Linked DNA regions of Homo sapiens: region 2 is linked to region 1. Evidence: promoter capture Hi-C in 16 types of primary human blood cells and fetal thymus (Javierre and others, 2016). All regions are on one chromosome and are shown on one strand. Each heading gives the region's core, a stretch centred on a gene start or on the middle of the fragment in contact. The rest is flanking DNA. Distances are from core to core; before and after follow the strand shown. Region 1 holds the start of CEP350 (centrosomal protein 350). Region 2 holds the start of RNF2 (ring finger protein 2).

Evidence for each region. The method cuts DNA at HindIII sites, captures the fragments that hold promoters and counts their contacts. A CHiCAGO score of 5 or more calls a contact.
Region 2: a contact is called between the fragment with the promoter of RNF2 here and the fragment with the promoter of CEP350 in region 1, in 1 of 17 cell types (activated CD4 T cells). The highest score is 7.3, in activated CD4 T cells.

What each region holds. Positions count from the first base shown.
Region 1 is chr1:179,952,758-179,957,015 of GRCh38, forward strand. CEP350 (centrosomal protein 350) reads left to right here and starts at 2,053. Exons shown (of 38, transcript NM_014810.5): 1 at 2,053-2,385. RefSeq lists an enhancer at 1,749-2,250 and a silencer at 2,038-2,487. The HindIII fragment of the contact is 10,111 bases long and covers 431-4,258 here.
Region 2 is chr1:185,043,751-185,048,008 of GRCh38, forward strand. RNF2 (ring finger protein 2) reads left to right here and starts at 1,808. Exons shown (of 7, transcript NM_007212.4): 1 at 1,808-1,899. RefSeq lists a silencer at 1,438-1,697. The HindIII fragment of the contact is 4,610 bases long and covers 472-4,258 here.

The DNA of each region.
Region 1 (4,258 bases), core at 803-3,302:
GTCTACTAAAAAGTAGGAGAAACAAGGGAGCCATATTGAATACCTATTACCGGCCTAACACTGCGGAGACGTCTGGGAAGGGCCACAAACCTTTCCACAGTAAACCTCCAATCTTGTTCCAGAGATTAATTACTCTCATGAAACTATATGCAACTAGTACAAAACTTGATAGATTCAGGGCCAATCTGTAGGGTAAACACAAGAGTAACGGGATATTAGAAAAGAAAGACATTGATGTGCTTGGGGAATTTAGGAGGCGAGGAGAAGACAGACCAACACAAGGTATAAGAAGTAGAAATTGTGCATAGGCTGATACCAGGGTAACCCTGCTCTGAGCACAGTGACAGAACTTTGGTGTCTTCTCTGTTGTCAAGGGGATAGCATGGGGCTGAAAAAGTATAAACAGGCTTTGGGGCAAAGCAGATCCCAAAGCTTACAGCTCCCTTTTATTGATGGTATAAAATTGGGCAAATTACTTAGCTTTTTCAGTACTTGTTTCTTTTTCTTTCTTTCTTTCTTTTTTTTTATTTTTTTGAGATGGAGTCTCACTCTGTTGCCCAGGCTGGAGTGCAGTGGTGCGATCCCGGCTCACTGCAACCTCCGCCTCGCAGGTTCAAGCGATACTCCTGCCTCCGCCTCCCGAGTAGCTGGGATTACAGGCACCCGCCACCACGCCCGGCTAATTTTTGTATTTTTAGTAGAGACGGGGTTTCACCATCTTGGCCAGGCTGGTCTTGTACTCCTGACCTCGTGATCCACCCGCCTCGGCCCCGCAAAGTGCTGAGATTACAGGCGTGAGCCACTGTGACCGGCCAGTACGTGTTTCTTCGTTTTAAAAAAGTGAGTATATTTAATAAGGTGGTTGTTTACATTCAGTAAAATAGCGCATGAAAAGCATCTAACACAGGGCTTTAAACAGCAAGACTGGGCAAAACCTAAATAACATTTTCCTTATGTTGTCTTTTTTGCTACCACTTGCACCATACGATTACCCACATTTCCTGTCCCCTCCAGTGCAGCTTCCTGGAGACACTTCACACGTATGCAGGACTTCTGTACATCCTACTCAGGCACAGCTGTAGGCCCTACAAAGAGGGACCATTTACTGCCTCCTGCTGTCATTGATATTCGACAAACATTTATTGAGCACCTACAATGTCCTAGTTACTGTGCTAGGCCATTTTGGGGTATAGAGAGATAAAACAGATCTTAAAGTCTTCACGACACTTAAAGATGAGAAACAGTCTCTGGGTAAATAACTATCGGAGTTCAGAAGGTGGACAGAAGTGGTGGGCGGCGAGTCTGTGTGCAGTGAGCACCTAGCGGAAGATGGCATTATTTGCAGAAGAGAGGTCCTTTAAGCCAAGTCTTGATAGATGATTTCACCACGCGGAGATTGGGAAACGAGGACAAAGATATGAGAAGATATGTTGGCCACAGAGAGCCTCTCAAAGCACTGTTAAAGCAAAGCCAATACTTAATGGGAGGAAACTCCGTTTTACTTGCGTGGAGTCTTAAGTCATTAGATGCATGCTAAACAGAACTGTAACCCTCGCGAATAAAACGGCCACAGTGACAGCAGTGGGTAACGGCAGAGCTGCAACTACTCTGACAGGGGTGACGACTTATTTGGACGACAGTTGGTGAAACATTGTAAACTCTCAGAAGCTGCCGTTTCCAGACTTTGAGTTCATTCTTGTCGAATCCCCAGCTTGTTTTCTCAGCCCGGGGTGAAATGCGCAGCCAAAAGGCCCAATGAGCGTCAAAGCGAAAGGGCAGGGGTGGTCTCTTCTGCGGATATACCTTGGCTCCTCCCAAGTCCTACGAGTTTAAACTTCGACGCACCAAACATGGCTTCTTCGCGGTTCTGCTCCTTGTTTTATTTCGCTCCCACCTTTCGGCCACACTCAACATGGCCCTAACCGAAGGTTGGCATGCCTGTGGCACTGTCTCGGGACAGTTCTCGCGAGGTTTGCCTGGGCCCGACTGCTCCCGCCCTGCCTCGCGCCGCCGCCACAGCCGCTGCCGCTGGCGCCGCTCCTCCTCCGTGTCAGTTGTTGGGCTGTAATGGCGACTGGGCCGCCCCTGACGAAGTGACTCCCGGGCCGGGGAGCGGGGCCAGACCTGCGCCAGAGAGAACTGCAGGGAGCCGCAGCTCGGGGGGTGGCTTGCCCTGAGGGAGGGGAGGCAGCCTTTCCGCCTTGTCTTCCTTCCCAGCGGACCGGCGGATCCCCGGAGCCGGTGCGAGGAGGGCACCCGGTGCGTCCCCGGAGCGGGGAGGCCAGGCCGGGCAGCCCTGGGGCCGGTCGGGGCGGCGTCACTGCACCCTCCGCCAGGCTCCGCGGGATGCACCGTGGTAGCCGAGGGCGGAGGCGACACTCTCAGGTGAGCTCCTGTAGGACCTGGCTGGGACCGCGGAGTCTCGCTCAGCCTCAACTGTCTCTGTCCGCGGTCCCGGGTCCCCGGTGGCGGCAAGAGAGGCGGGGCCGGGCGCGGAGAGTCTTGGCCCTGCTTGGCGTCCCCCTCGGGGAACCTCCCTGGGTTCTGAGGCTTTTCGGGGACCTAGGTTTCGGGTCCCACCAGTGCCTGCTGAAGACGGAATTTCCTTCCTTACGTGCCAGTGTCCTCCCGCCTCCTCCACCCCTCCTCTAGCCTGCAGAGGTAAGATACCTCTAGCCTTTGCTGCCCGGAGAAGTGTCCCTTCTTCATCTGGCGATCAGGCGTATTTGGGGAGATTCCGGGGACTGGCTCCAGTGGCAGGGATGATCAGTTTCTGTTCCTTTTCAGTGGGGATCACATTCTCAAGTATAGGGAAAACTTTGATCTACTCTAGTCTAGCGGCTGCTGAAGGTAGTTTATTCACAGATAATTTGGGGAAAGATTTAAAAGGCTTTATGTTTTGGAAGTTGTCAGTATTTTCCTCTGCCTTTTAAATGCAGCTCAACATGCTAAGTAATATTTAGCTAATGTCACAAGATATGAATTGGAATTTGCCTGGATTTTAAATATTCAGATAGAAAGTTGCACATAGGCATAGATTTTAATGTTTTAATGCAGTAGCAAATCCTTCATATGGGAAAAAACAGGTTGTCAGAAATAGTGATCAATATCCATGTACTCCACCTGATTGTTTTGTTTTGATGGTGATCCTTGTTTTGAATTTGGGGAAGTCGTTATTGTTGCCATGTTAACGATACCTCCTGCCCTGTATTTGAAGAGTTTTAAAAGAAAGACTATCTTTGGCAGAGCTAGTAACAATCTGAAAAGTTCTGTAGAAACAATGATAAAATACTAAAAGTTGCCCTCCATTCTGAAAATTTCTTCGTTTAATATATTGTTTTTAAACAAGGAAATGCACTGCTAATGACATGGAATTGTGACTTTGAGGGATTGTTAGACCCATGCTGGAAGTTGCTTCAAAGCCATGGGCGTATAATAATTAGTTTCGGTGTGCTAAATTGACAAATTTTATTTAATGTAATGAAATAAATCTGAATCATTTGAACTGTCAGTGCATTAAATTTAAGATACTGTAATCTGAAAATAAACTTCAAGCTAGAATACATTGTATATGTGGATAAATACATGTGTATCTCTGTATCTCTTCATCCTCAGTAGCAAAATTTTGTGTATGTAGAGATGGCAAGTTGTATATGTAAAAAATTTCATACGTATGTGAACATATTTCTTTGATTTTCTGAGATAAATTGGTGTGTGTGTCATGTAAGAGCGTTAATACTTAAACAGCCAACCTTCTGTGGGGCAATCAATTTATGAATTATAAAGTTTTTGGATTTTTTCCTTCTGCTTCTGATTGTCAGTCTTTTGCCCATTTTATAACACTTCTACCATATATGAGCAGAAGAAAGGAGATGAAGTACTGCTATAATCAATTTTATTTGTTAAATTGCTATAATTTATAGTGGGAGCAAAAAAGAAGTCTAAAATAACTGACATCAGTTTTTGGTGTGCTTCTATATACATTATTTTATTTAGTTTTCACAGTGATCTTGTGAAGTAGGTATGGCAGATATCCTTATTTTGCAGTCGTGGAAACTGACACACAAGGAAGATCATTTATGTGAATGCCTCTCATTTCTGCAGATAATGTGGAATTATTTTTATTTTAAACTAAATATTAATATAGGTGCTCTGGCATTTGGTGTTATTTTAAAATATTAAAAAATTATTCTATTTTTGTTCCTTTTTACATGCCACTTGCCCCTTATGCTGATGATCGTCAGTTCTTTAAAAACAT
Region 2 (4,258 bases), core at 558-3,057, 5.1 Mb after region 1:
TCTAGAAAGTGGACTTTCACAAGAAGGGAGAAGCAGAGCTTCCCTGATTATTTTGATTTTGTTGTTGTTGTTGTTTTGTTTTGTTTTGAGACGCAGTCTCGCCGAGACACCCAGGCTGGAGTGTCATGGCGCGATCTCGGCTCACTGCAACCTCTGCTTCCCAGGTTCAAGCGATTCTCCTGCCTCAGCCTCCCGAGTAGCTGGGACTGCAGGCGCGTGCCACGACACCTGGCTAACTTTTTTTTGTATTTTTAGTAAAGACAGTTTCACCATATTGGCCAGGCTGATCTCGAACTCCTGATCTCAAGTGATCCGGTGGCCTTGGGCTCCCAAAGTGCTGAGATTACAGGCGTGAGCTACCACACCCAGCCTTTTTTTCTCCCCCCACATTGGAGGAAGAGTTTAACCTTGAAGGGCTTGTAGAGTCAGATAACTGTCACTTGTTATTTAAAGTTATAGATAGTAGGCAAAAGCTTTCAAGCCACTGAAAAAGAATAATGCTTGTTTTCTTTGATGGATTGTTAGGTAGCATATATAATGTGCTGTATTTAACACCTGTCCTTTTTCTTTCCACCCATCCAAGGCGTCAAAGGCCATCTTAAATCCCGGCTCCTCAGGAAATCATCCCCAAACACACCAGCTGGAATTGATATTTTTCTTTTCCAAATTCCTATGTAAATTCATGTCATTTATTTGGAATTGCTTATAGAGAGTTTCAGAGCGTTAAAGAACTGGAAAGGACCTAGGATTCAATACAATTCTCTCATCTCGCAGACGAAGAAAATGAAGTGCAGAGGAGCTACGCAATCTACGTAAGTCACATAGACACACATTGGAGGCTATGAACCTAGTTTGCCCAATTCCCACTGCAGTCCATTGGTTTATGCCTCTATGCCTTCAGATTTACGGTCTGGTATTGCTGGTTATCTTCTCAAGAGAACATGACATCTCAACAATAGTACATATAGAGATCAGGGAACTTTCAATTCTTCGTTACTTCTTCAGCTCATAATTTATATGCATTAAATGTCGGATAATTTACTGGAGACTAACTGGCTGTGTTTTAGGTAATGATTACATCTATTAATCTATTACTTCGTAAATCCTCAAGTTCAGAAGGTAACACTGGAAGGGGCCAAGGAGGTAGGAATAAAGCAGCAGCAAGGTAAATAGTAAGAGCTGATGACCACAATCAGAATGTTAAGCTAAGTTTAGAGTGGAAGGTCATTTTCCCAGGAGCAATTACACTTGCAGTTTTATCCTGCAAGGATGAAAAGTGTATGTTTGTTGTACGAGAGCGGAAGGGTGCCGAAGTTCATGTGAAGTTCTGCAAACCAAAGCCTGATGAGGATTTCCGCCGGGTGGGACAGGTTTAAGAGGACGAACTCATGAGAAAGAAGTCTGAGCCCAAACCCCAGAAGCCGGCCAGGAAGGTGTAAAGGGTGGGCCGAAGCCAGGGCAGAAGAACCCAAGCAGAAGGTTGAGCACGAGGTGGCTGCGCCGTCATCCGGGCGTTGCCCGGGGGCTACGTCGGACCGCGGTGGGCGCCGGGGGGGCGTGGCCGGCCAGCCCAGGGCGGGGCGGTGGCGCGGGTTCTCCAGGCCAACACGCGGCGGCGCACCCTCCCTCGCGCCGCGGGCCTCCCCGCGCCGTGCACGTCCTCGTCCCGCGCCTCCGCCCCTCGCTCGCTCGCTCCTTCCCGCCCTCCCCGCAGCGCCGGCCGAGCCGGCTTCCCCTCAGTCTCTCATGAATATTGAGCGGCCCCTGTTGTATTTCCCGAGCTCCATTGCGGAAGCTGAGGCTCGCCATATTGTGCGGCGGCGCCGGCGTCCGCGGCAGCTGATACCAGAGTCTTGCTCCGGCCGCGGCCAGCGGAGCCCTGGGCTGGGGCAGGAGCCGGTGAGTGGGGCGGGCGGGGAGGCGAAGGACGCGGAAGCAGCGGGCCGGGACACGCGTCTACTCGGCAGCGTTGCAGGCGACTGACGGGGGCCCCGGAGTGTGGGGGGGGTGTGTGTCCGCGGGGGTGTGAAGGGACATGGCGCCGCCGCCGCCCCCGGCCGCTCTCGCGGCGGAGACGGCGGGTGAAGCGGGTTCTCATTGTTCCCGTGTCTTCGAGGGTCGTGGGAGGGAAGGGAGCTGGTTTGCGGAGGACCCAGTCAGCGAAGCGCCGGGATTCCTTCCTTCGCCGCGAGCCTTTCGCTGCCCTTTCCTCTGCGCGGAGGCCGGCGCTGCGGCGCGGTCCCCTCGCCTCCGGGGGCGGGGGCCCCAGCCTCTCTGCAGCCCTACTCCGGAGGCGGACGGAGTGGAATGCGAGTTTTTTCTCTGGGCTTTCGCCTCGCAGCTAGGGATGTGTGTCTGCATCGTGGGGGTGGGGTAGGGGGCACTTTGTGCAGATATCGCTCCTTCCTTCTGGGGGGTCGGAGTCGGGGTTCCAGTGTAGAGGAGCTCCTCGACCTCGGGGTTCCTCGGGGAGACCCCTTCAGCTTCACACATTCCTGGAGTGCCGCCTCCTGCTCTGGAGTATCTGTTGCTGCTTTCTAAAACCGTGAGCTTACCCAGGAGGAGTCGTGGGGGGAGGGGGTGTCTTGGTTAGTTTCTGCGGGAAGATTCGCGTTTTGAACCGTGTCGTTTACGCTGAGATGCTAGTACCCACTTTTGCCGGGAGCCCACGTCCTGCTGGTCAGAATCGTTTACCTTCTACAGAAGTCTCCTTCTTGCTTTCAGAGATGGTGTTAGTAAAAATTGATCTCAAACTTTGAGGTTCATTCCAGTTATTTGCCCGCTAAGATCAATTATAGACTCATCTATTTGAAGCCCCTTTGGGTATCTTTTTCGAGGCTGTCGGAAGTTTTAGAGAATGTAACTTTACATTGTAAAATGATTTGAAGATGTCAGGTTTCTTTGAAGTGCCGTGAAAAGGATATACATATGCACTCAGTATTTTAGTAATACGCTGTTTTTCAATTAAAAAAATTAAGGCATGGTTTCAGTGTTCTAAACCGAGGATATGTTTAAAACGAATGTACGAGCGATTTGCATTACATAATCTACTTTTGGTAATTCCAAGATGATCAGCTGGAATACTTAGTCTAATTGGTAGCTAATCTATCTGTTTTGTATTAAGTGCAGTTGTTGAATATTCTAATAACTGAGGTGGGTGTGAGAGTTTGCTTCTTATAGTGAAATTTGATCCTTGGATTTATAAAGTATTTAAATAGCAGCAATATGACTCTTGGTTATTCCCTTTTTCCCCTGAAATTTCTACTTTTCACAATCAACAAGTATCTTTAAAAATCTTGATTGTACTCTTAAACTACTTTTTAGCAAAATAATAGGTAGTTATAGGTGACTCCTTTTTCTAGGGGTAGCACAGCAAATATGGTCCCTCACTTTTTGTAAGGATTGTAGTTATTTTCCTCAGGTATCCTTGTGGCATCCACATTTGAGGTTAATTATAGTAGAGGCAGATTTACGAAGAAAAATTGCCCGAGTCAGGCCAATCCGTTTGAGTATTTGAAAAATAAGCTAGTTGTCCTAAAGTGTGTTGCATAGAAAAATTTCCAGTTACAATCACTAACATAATGTAGACCATGCAGACTTTCAAAATACTGGGAATTTGGAGTTTTTCTCTGCCTGTGTGAAGCTCCCAGGTTTGAATGGATAGAAATATAGACCAGGTCAGCAAACATGTTTGGAATTTTATTAGTGACCTACAGTTTGTGGTGTCACGTCTGTGTCTCTAATCTGATTTATTCATGATTTGTGTTTATATTATGCAGACTTTGGAGTAAAGGTGATATATATGCCTAATGAATAATATATAACCAGATGTTTCAGTGACAGTTTCATTTCTATACATTAGCAAAGAAGCATAATTTCTTCCAGCAAGAGAAATGAGTTAATATTAAAACGCACTTTATTAAAATTATGGCAGTGTTTCTAGTATGACTTAAAGCGCTTCATAATTTTGAAATGACTCATTAAATTCTGGATAAACTAAAAATCCATCACAGTTTGCAGCTTTTAAAAGAAAAATAAGAGATTATGTACTCTGCGCACGTACACATCTACAATTGGTTTTTAATTCGTGTTATTGCACACACTGTAGAAGACATTGTCATCAGACAATGGTTAATTTCTCGATTGATTCATTTATTTGACATCTAAGCTGTCATAGTAACTTAGTGTTTATTTGCATTTAATACTGAGTAGGTGCCCATATAATTTGGGGTACAAAGGTATAATAGCATTTACACAG